Regions from separate parts of the Homo sapiens genome. Here regions 1 and 3 are each linked to region 2. The links are contacts of gene promoters, found by promoter capture Hi-C in blood cells and fetal thymus (Javierre and others, 2016). All regions are on one chromosome and are shown on one strand. Each heading gives the region's core, a stretch centred on a gene start or on the middle of the fragment in contact. The rest is flanking DNA. Distances are from core to core; before and after follow the strand shown.

Evidence for each region. The method cuts DNA at HindIII sites, captures the fragments that hold promoters and counts their contacts. A CHiCAGO score of 5 or more calls a contact.
Region 1: a contact is called between a fragment that was not itself captured here and the fragment with the promoter of SPOCK3 in region 2, in 1 of 17 cell types (monocytes). The highest score is 5.0, in monocytes.
Region 3: a contact is called between a fragment that was not itself captured here and the fragment with the promoter of SPOCK3 in region 2, in 1 of 17 cell types (monocytes). The highest score is 6.4, in monocytes.

What each region holds. Positions count from the first base shown.
Region 1 is chr4:167,061,647-167,064,508 of GRCh38, forward strand. SPOCK3 (SPARC (osteonectin), cwcv and kazal like domains proteoglycan 3) reads right to left here. Exons shown (of 11, transcript NM_001040159.2): 3 at 846-891. Among named protein-coding and RNA genes, the nearest start is that of SPOCK3, 170 kb to the right of the region's middle. The HindIII fragment of the contact is 4,466 bases long and covers 1-2,862 here.
Region 2 is chr4:167,232,612-167,235,930 of GRCh38, forward strand. SPOCK3 (SPARC (osteonectin), cwcv and kazal like domains proteoglycan 3) reads right to left here and starts at 1,883. Exons shown (of 11, transcript NM_001040159.2): 1 at 1,839-1,883; 2 at 1,374-1,562. The coding sequence starts at 1,562. The HindIII fragment of the contact is 4,219 bases long and covers 94-3,319 here.
Region 3 is chr4:167,041,808-167,044,728 of GRCh38, forward strand. The region is part of intron 3 of SPOCK3 (SPARC (osteonectin), cwcv and kazal like domains proteoglycan 3); the gene reads right to left. Among named protein-coding and RNA genes, the nearest start is that of SPOCK3, 190 kb to the right of the region's middle. The HindIII fragment of the contact is 345 bases long and covers 1,377-1,721 here.

The DNA.
Region 1 (2,862 bases), core at 326-2,825, 170 kb before region 2:
TGTGTCTTCATCATCTAATCACTTACTAAACACTCTTACAAAAACTTCTATTTTTAAGTCTGACTACTTCACAAAGTATTATCTTTTGCACGGTTACTATATACTCTATGTAAAGAAGAAATTTTTTTTCTACTTTGCAGAGACTACAGAAAGTTACAAAAAGAAACTTTAAAAGTAAGATACTTTTTAAATGTGAACTTTAGTAAACAAATCTCTTTAGTCATTTATGTAACTATGATTGCTTGGGGCTTGATGTGTCCATTCTCATTGCACATGTAGAAGTATTTTCATTTTCATCCCTATTTCTTGTTTTCCTTTTAAAGGTAAGTTAATCAGAATTGCAAACTGTTTGAAAGGAGGTGGGGAAGCCCTAATTTTGTATAACACGTTTCCTTTTGGGGCTTGTTAAGACCCCAGCTGAGTCTAATTACTAATTTACTAGTCTTAAAGGAAACCTTTTATTAATTGGAAAAGAGGCAAAAAAAGCCATTTGTTTTAAAAGTTTGTACAAATAAATCTATTGCCCAGTGAATGTACTTGAAAACTGGATGAAGTGACTTGTATCTACTGATAAAAATAAACCTGGTAAGGTTCAGAAGCCCAAATCAGTCATCTAAAACATGTATCTAAAAATAAAAGACATCCTGACATAATCATGATAACTAATTAGCTTACTTCTAAAAATATTATGCTGAAATGTAAGTAATTATTGCACAAATTTTTCCATTCATGTAAGCTCTTCTATTTAGTATTTTCAAGCCTAACCAGACAGTAAATATCATTTCTAAAAGTACAATGATTATGAACATGTAAAGGTTTTTATTTTAAAATAGTTAGATTCTTACCCTGATCGAAGGGTTTTCCTGGACTCCAAGTGCGGAAATAATCATCCTAAGGGGGAAAATAATGTGAATTGAGTGTATACAAGTAATTAAAACGCAAGGGTTCATATAAAATCTAAAATTAAATATGAAACACAGAAGCTGTATACAAACCTCTACTTCCTGCAATGGCAAGCAGCAAATTATAAAATAAATAAATAAAAATAAAAAAGAAACAAGAGAAAAAGAATAGTTATCAAAAAGGAACACACTGTTTTCAAGTTACAGAAATGTCTTTCAATAAACCTGTTCATTTTCATTGCAAGTCAATGGTTACTATAACAATTTAACTATTTTTGGTTGCCACTTCTCCTAAATATTACAATGCAATATTTTCAATTACAATTCAGTGCATAATATAACATGCAGATAATTACCTAAAGCTAATAAGCTATAAAGTATCTTACCAGTTTCCAATTATACAACTTCATTGTCCCCTAGTACAACAATAAGTGGAACTATTAATTTAGCAGGGAAAATACCAAGTGATTCTGCAGTGGCCCATGGAGTGTAAATATGCTTTATGCAAATCATTCTCTTGCTAATCGAATATCTAAGAAGTTCATCAAAATGCAATCTAGAGGTTGAAAAGAATGCACACCTAATTAAGTCCTGCCTAAAGTTTAATTCTTTAATATGGAAAAGAATCAATGCAATATATTTACGATATACTTAGTAAATATGACAGTACAGCACAAATGTAGGGCAACGTATACTGAAAAGAATTTTTAAAAGTAAGGCCAAATAGACTATGTCTATTTACCGTTTTTACCACTCTAAAAGCCTTATAAAATTCCTCATTAATATCATATTTTATTATAAATTAAAAAGATATCACTGTTGAAATTAACATACTGTTGTCACTATGGTAACCTGCCAAAAGAGAGTAGCACATCATGGTGAAGCTGTAACATTTCCAAGCTCTAAACTGTTAGACCCACTCAAGTCAGTTAATTGGAAAGCTACAGAAGTTACAGAATTCAAAAGGGGTCAGCAGAGATTCTTTCTCTTTGTATCAATGTAAGGGGTATAAATGCGGTTTTGCTACATGAATATCACATAGTGGTGAAGTCTCAGCTTGTAGTGTAACCATCACCTGAATAGCGTACATTGTTCCCATTAAGTAATTTCTCAGCTTTCACCCCTCACACCGTCCCACCCTTCCAAGTATCTCGTGTATTATTTCATACTCTATGTCAATGTGTACACATTATTTAGCTCCTACTTACAAGTGAGAACATGAGGTATTTGACTTTCTCTTTCTGAGTTGTTTCACTTAAAATAATGGCCTTCAGTTCCACCCACGTTGAGGCAAAAGACATAATTTCATTCCCTTTTATGGCTGAATAGTATTTCATTTCCTTTATCCAATCAACTGTTGATGGGCAGTTAGATTAAATCTAATATATTTACGGTTCTGAATAGTGCTGTGATAAACATATGAGTGCAATTATCAGTTTTATATAATGACTTATCTTCCTTTTTTGAATCTTCTTTCTAGCCTCTTTTTTAGTGTCTCCACTGTATAAGGAAGAAAATGTAGCACTGACTTCAATCATAGAAATAAATGCAATCCTTTAATTTATTTATGAAAATTTTAAATTAAGTTTCAGAAGTTTTTTTAATGTGACTAACAGTTAATCACTACCTTCTGTAATTGCACCCCACCAATTTCAAATTTTTTAAAAAATGAAACAAAAAGAAAAAAATGACATCACTGTAGTTGATATATTTATGTCCAGATAGGGTTATATTAAGAGGAGGGCAAATTATAGCAATCTATACACATAGATTTTCCACTAAATTATCTAGGATTAGATTAAGAAAGGATAATGCTACTGGATAATTAATAAACACTGATTATGTATTGTCTTTAAAATATTTTTAAATACAATTATAGCATGATACAATTCTTGGAAAATTAGACTTTCAAATTAAATTACTCCACTAAATGTCTCAAAACTTGAGCTGAGCAACGTAA
Region 2 (3,319 bases), core at 633-3,132:
TTTGCTTGTACTCAATATTGGTGTAAACTTAAAACAAATATGCAACGGGTATGCTTTTATAAGGGCATTTATTTAGCAATAAAATGATGCTTAAGCTTTGTTCATGAAGTATGTAGGCAAGGTTCTCCATTAAATATTCTCAATCAAATGGCTAAACCTAATTTTAAAGTAAAAATTTGTGTTTCTTCAGGAATCCCTCTGCTAGATTTGGCTTGTCAGCTACTTCATGGAGAGGCTGAGAGAATGGGTTAGAGGAGGCAGGATGAAAGCTAGCCTAGGCTCCCTTTTATTTTCCTAAATGGTGACTGAGTCGGAGCTGATGAAAGAAGTTAACTCATCTCCACGTAGTGCACTGCAGATGGACTCCACGAGAAATTCTCTCAAATGTCACGGTAAGGATTGGCAATGTGTCTAGGAACCACTCTCGCTCCAGTTCAGGCCTTCCGCGTTTTAAAGGGTGGGCTAGGGGCGGTATTCAGCCAACAGGGCGGCCTCCTCACTGGGACAACCAAATTCAAGGCTTCCAGTTGTATCGTGCTCTGTACGTGAGCAGCTCTTACTGGGCTCCATTCAGATCAGGTGAGGAAAATAAAAATGACTGGCAAGCCATGGCCACTAGCTTCAAGTGTGGAAACCTGGCTCCCTCTTAATAACCCTTTTGAAAACTCCCCAGGGGAGTCTATGGTTTAACTCTTTTATCGCTGTCACCTGCAATCCTCCCGCCCTCGCAACCTCTTCCCGCAGAGTTCAAGGCAGTGATTCATTTTGGAATAAAATATAATCAAATGCATTGCAAAGATGTTCTAGATTAAAGTCATGTCGAAGCACAAATCTGATCGACAATTTTATGTAAGCGGGAGCGTTCAACGAGTCCTTACTGGTGCCGCCAAACATCCTCCCACCCTTGGAGAGCGGGCATTTATAAATCTTACATCTTCCTACCTCCTCCCTCAAATTCCTTAATGGACCATTAGTGACAGGATCGATCCTAGTTACTTTAGTAGCGATACATCGCAAAGGCACATCTGCTGTGTTTACCAGTGCCAGAAACACCATTCAAAAGTTGAGAGGTTAGAGCCAGCACTTTGTAACCTTTGTGGGCCGGGAGGGGGCACAGGGGAGAGCAGGGTGGGGGAGGAAGAGTGTGAACCTGGTGAGACCTGAACTCCTGTGCATCCAAGAAACAAGCCCTTGAACCAGCTGGGAGGGGGCAGCGGAACTGTGAACTTCTCCAGCAGCCCTGCGCCGCCGCGTTTCCCTAAACCCCTCTCCTCAGAAAACGGAGCCCACTCCCCACCCACATCCGGCGGCCGCGGCCCCCGCCTCGGAGCAGCGCGCGCGTGTGCCCGGGGATGTGGGTGCGCGGAACTTACGTCTCGGAATTTGTTCCACTGTCCGACTTCCTTGTCATACTGAGAGATTGTGGTGAGCCATTGTTTATCATCCAGAAAATTACCGCCGTCCGACCGCCCCCCGGCTGCAGCCACCGCCGCGGCAGCTGCGAGAGACTGACTGCACCAAGCGGCTGCACACACACACAGTACGGCTGACACCTTGAGCATCTGGGAGAGGAGACACAACGGGGGGTGGGGGGGCATGTCAGTGTCAAATAAGGGGTACGAAGCCAGGAGCGACCCTGGAAAACATGCATTAGCAACGACGAGGGTAGAGGGAGGAGGAGACAAGCAGAGGCAAGCGTGTCCCCTCCCCGCAGGCTTTACCCCCAAAAGCCGGGCACTCACACACACGCAGACCCAGAGGAGGAGAGGTGGGTATAAGGAAGCAAGCCCCAGCCGCAGCAGCCCGAGCGGGCACAAAACCGCTTCCTGGCACATCACCTTGTTGTGAGCCAGCACTGTGCTCGCAGCTCCTGCTGGAAATGCAGCCCTGCTCTGCCAACTCGCTGCTTTCTGGAGCTGCTGCACGCGCCGCCGTCTCGAGCCGTCCACTCAGCTCCCTGCGCCCGGCGCGCTCCCCCCATCTCCACCCTCCCTTCGCGCGCGGATCTCCAGCTTACTCCCCTCCGTTCCCCCTCCCTCCCCGACCTCCGTTTTTTTCCTCTTCCACCTCCTCCTATCCCACCTTCCTCTCGCTGGATCCCAGCTACAGTTGGCTCCGGATAGGACGCTTGGCTGGAGCCAGAGGACGAGGTAGCTCCTAGCCTAGGAATCCTTATCTGCTTTGTAACCTCTCCCCTCCAGAAGAGGTTCTCATGTTCGCGAGACAGCCTGCTCATTCTCTGCTCCTGGATTTAACACAAAGTGTACTATCTCTCGCAGTTGCCTCTGCTCCACAATTTCCAGGGTTGTCAGGCAGACGTGAGAAACAAGATCTGAGGAAAACTTTATGCATTAATAAATAAGAATACCTGGACTTCCTACCCTGTAAAGCTCCTGAACTCAGCTCCTCCCTAAAGAAAGGCCATCTATCCACAAGGTCTTGGGAGATCTGTTTAATTTCAGAAAATTTAAAGTTTGCTGTGAGCTTCTGGATTACTACCGACAGCAAACTTTCATGTTAAAGGTTGCAGTTTCTTTTTTTCTTTTCCTTTGTGTGTGTGTGTGTGTGTGTGTGTGTGTGTGTGTGTTTTGTTTTGAGAGACAGAAGCATAACGAGGTAGGGCGTTTGAGAACACCTATATCTCCTACATACTGTAGCTGCATTTTTCCCTTTATAAAAACTCCCTGGCAGCTTTATTTTAGAACGTAGAACCTGAATCGGAAACTTTAAAAGCCTACTGTCTCCCTCCTGCAAAATAAGACAGTTTTGAAGCCCGAACACCAATTTTGTATTCCAAACTTCCATTTATGACAAAATATTTGGCTTTCCATGTCGTTTCTACATATTCTAAATAAACTGGAAGGAAATCAGTAATTAGCCCCTTGTAGAGAAAATCTGATACAGAGAATCTCTCATATTTAGAGAATTTAGGTGAAGTGAATATTACACATAAATCAAGAAATGTCTGCAAGCCAATAGACTGCAATAACATTATGAATCTCTATTTGAATTATTAGAGATTTCAGCCAAAACTACATCTCCCAAAGCTACGACCTTTGAACATTTCTTGTAGCCTCCAAAACTTCAGAAGCTATTCGAATAGCAGCAGTACACATTTTCCATATCAATCTCGTCTAACATTTTGCAATCTATATTAACAAAACGACCAAACTCAATGTTTAATGTTAATTTCCTTTTTTAATGTAATATTTCAAAATAAATGTATAATATGTATGGTAGGAAATATAAGTGTAATATTTATATAGGAAAGAAATTTCTATTACTATTTTTAACTCAGAAAAAGATGTTTTTCTCAATT
Region 3 (2,921 bases), core at 299-2,798, 190 kb before region 2:
TACTCTGATTTGATCATTATACCATGTATACATGCATTAAAACATCCCACTGAACTTCATAAATATATACAATTTTATGTATTAATTACAAATAAAAATTAAATGAAAAAATGGTAAAATGTAAATTATAAATATGATTTAAAATAACTTCCTCAATAATAAGCATTGCATTAAACAATTTCATGTTTAGATTTGAATGAAATAAAAGTATATTCAAAATTCCATTTTCCCTCCTATTAGAATTTTATTTAATCCTTTCATTAGATATATCAAGTGTAGCAATAGCTATCCAAACATAACAGATAACACAATGTACAGTCATCCTTTAGCACTGGCAGAGAATTGATTCCAGGATCTCCAGAAGACACAAAAATTTGCAGATGCCCAAGTCCTTTAGTCAGGCCTCCTTATCTATGAGTTTCGAATCAGGGGATTCAACCCATATGCAGGTATTTTCTATCCATCTGTGGTTGAATCCTTGGATGTGGAACCTATGGTTAAGGAGGGCTGACTGTAACTGCTGCTTATAGAATACTGAATTAGAGGAACAGAAACAACAAATAGGATATGTTATGTAATTGTTATGTAATTGTTTTAACTTAAACTATGTCTGGATCAAATACATATGATGTGGAGTTTGTGAAACTATAAAGTTCAGAGATCCAGGCATGGAGCTAATGATGTAGTAGACAGGCCTGGTGTTCATACTTTTGTCTGTTAAAGTCCTACCTAGTTGAGTTTCATGAGTAGACTGATCAGAAAACTCTGATTTACCAAATATGTCTTAAATTTGTGTGTGGAAGAAAAGAGAAACCTGAAAAGTAATTCATATTTAGGACAGTTTTATACTTACACCACCCCCTATAAAGGAAAAACAATAAATCCCTCTTAAGGTTAAAAAGGCTTTCATTAGAACATCTTCAAAAATGATCAAGTGTTTCTGAACATGTTCACAGAATTTTTAGATAAAATAGAATAATCAACCAAGTTTACTTCCAGATGCTTTATAAGGGCTTTAGGTTGATACCTAAGGGTCAAGTAAGTCATGCCAATAAGTGGGTTAAGGGGTAGTTATTTGTGTGCCCCTGATCATTGCTATTCACTAATGTTTACTTATTACTGGCAGCAGATTATCCTGTTTTTTAAGAGATGGTGGAATTTTGGTGAGGCACACACCACTGGTTCTCTCTTCAATAGCAACCTCATCACTTTTTCTGTCTCTACAGTTTTCTCTTTTGCAGAATGTCATTTAGGTGGCATTATATAGCATGGAGACTTTTCACATTGGCTTCTCTCACTTAGTAGTCTGCATCTTTCATTCCTCTGTGGCTTGATAGCTCATTATTTCATCAGTGTTTTCTGCTTTTCTTATAGAAAGCTTGTTTATATTTGGTTAGATTTATACCTAAGTATTTCATCCTAGAGGGTACTAATGTAAATGATATTGCATTAATGTAAAATCCCATTTGTTCTGAAGTATAGGAAGGCCATTGACTTTTGTATGATAGCTCTGTATTCTGCAACCTTGTTATAATCTTTATTAATTCCAGGAGGTTTTGTTTTAGGATTTTCTACATCAATGACACCAGGGAACAAAATCAGTTTTATTTATTCCTTTTCAATCTGTATATCATTGCTTCCTTTTCTGTTTCATTGCATTAGTTAGGACTTTCGTTATAAAGTTGAAAAGCAGTGGTGAAAAGGAACATTCTTATTCCTGAAGCTTAGAGTTTCTCATAATTAGGTATGATGGTAGCTACAGGTTTTTTATAGATGTTCTTTATCAGGTTGCAGAAGTCAACCTCTATTCCTACTTTATACATAGTTTTTATCATGAATAGGTGTTGAATTTTGTTAAATGCTTTTTCTCCATCTCTTTATGTTACTATGTAATTTTTTTTCTTCTCTATATTCTTAATGTGTTGGGATAACTGGTTTTGAATTATATTGAGCCAGCCTTGCATTCCCGAGATAAACCTCACTTGATTGTAGTGCATTAATCTTATAATACATTTTTGGACTGGATTTGCCAATACTTTATTGAAGACTTTTGCACCCATGTTATGAGAGATCCTAGTCTACAGTGTTTGTTTTCTTTTCTTTGTAATGTGTTTGTCTGATTTTGATATTAGCATGATGGTGGCCTTTTAGGATGAGTTAGGAAGTATTTCCTTTGATTCTTCTATCTTCTAAAAAATTGCGGAGAATTGTTTTATTCTTCTTTAAAGGTTGATTTGAACTCACCAGTATATCCAACTGAGTTTCATATTTTTTGTTTTGACAGGTTATTAATTTTTGACTCAACATCTTTAATAGATATCAGTCTACTAAAATTGACTATTTCTTCTTTTTCAGGTTTTAGCAGATTGTGTCTTTCAAATAATTGGTCCATTTCATCTAAGTTACCAAATTTGTGGGCACAGAGTTGTTCATAATATTTACTTATTATCCTTTTAATGTTCATGAAATCTGTAGCTATTTTGTCTCTTTCACTTCTGATAATAGTAATTTGTGACCCTTCTTTTTTCTTAGCCTGGCTAGAGTTTTGTCAATTTTAATGACCTTTTCAAAGAACCAGTTTCTGGTTTTGTTGTCTATTGATTTCCTTTTTTCAATTTAATTGATTTTTACTCTATTATTTTTTTCTCCTTCTTACTTCAGACTTAAATTTCTTTTCAAGTTTACTAAGAGCCTGTAAGACTGATTTTAGATCTTTCTTATTTTCTCATGTATGCATTCAATGGTATAAACTTCTTTGTAAGCACTGCTTTCACTGCACGCCACAAACAAATTTTGATAATTTGTTTTCACTTTTATTTAATTCAAAATATTTTAAAATTTCTCTTGGTATTTCTTCTTTGACACATGTGATATCTACAAGTATGTTGCTTAATCAACACATACTTTGGAATTTTCTGGTT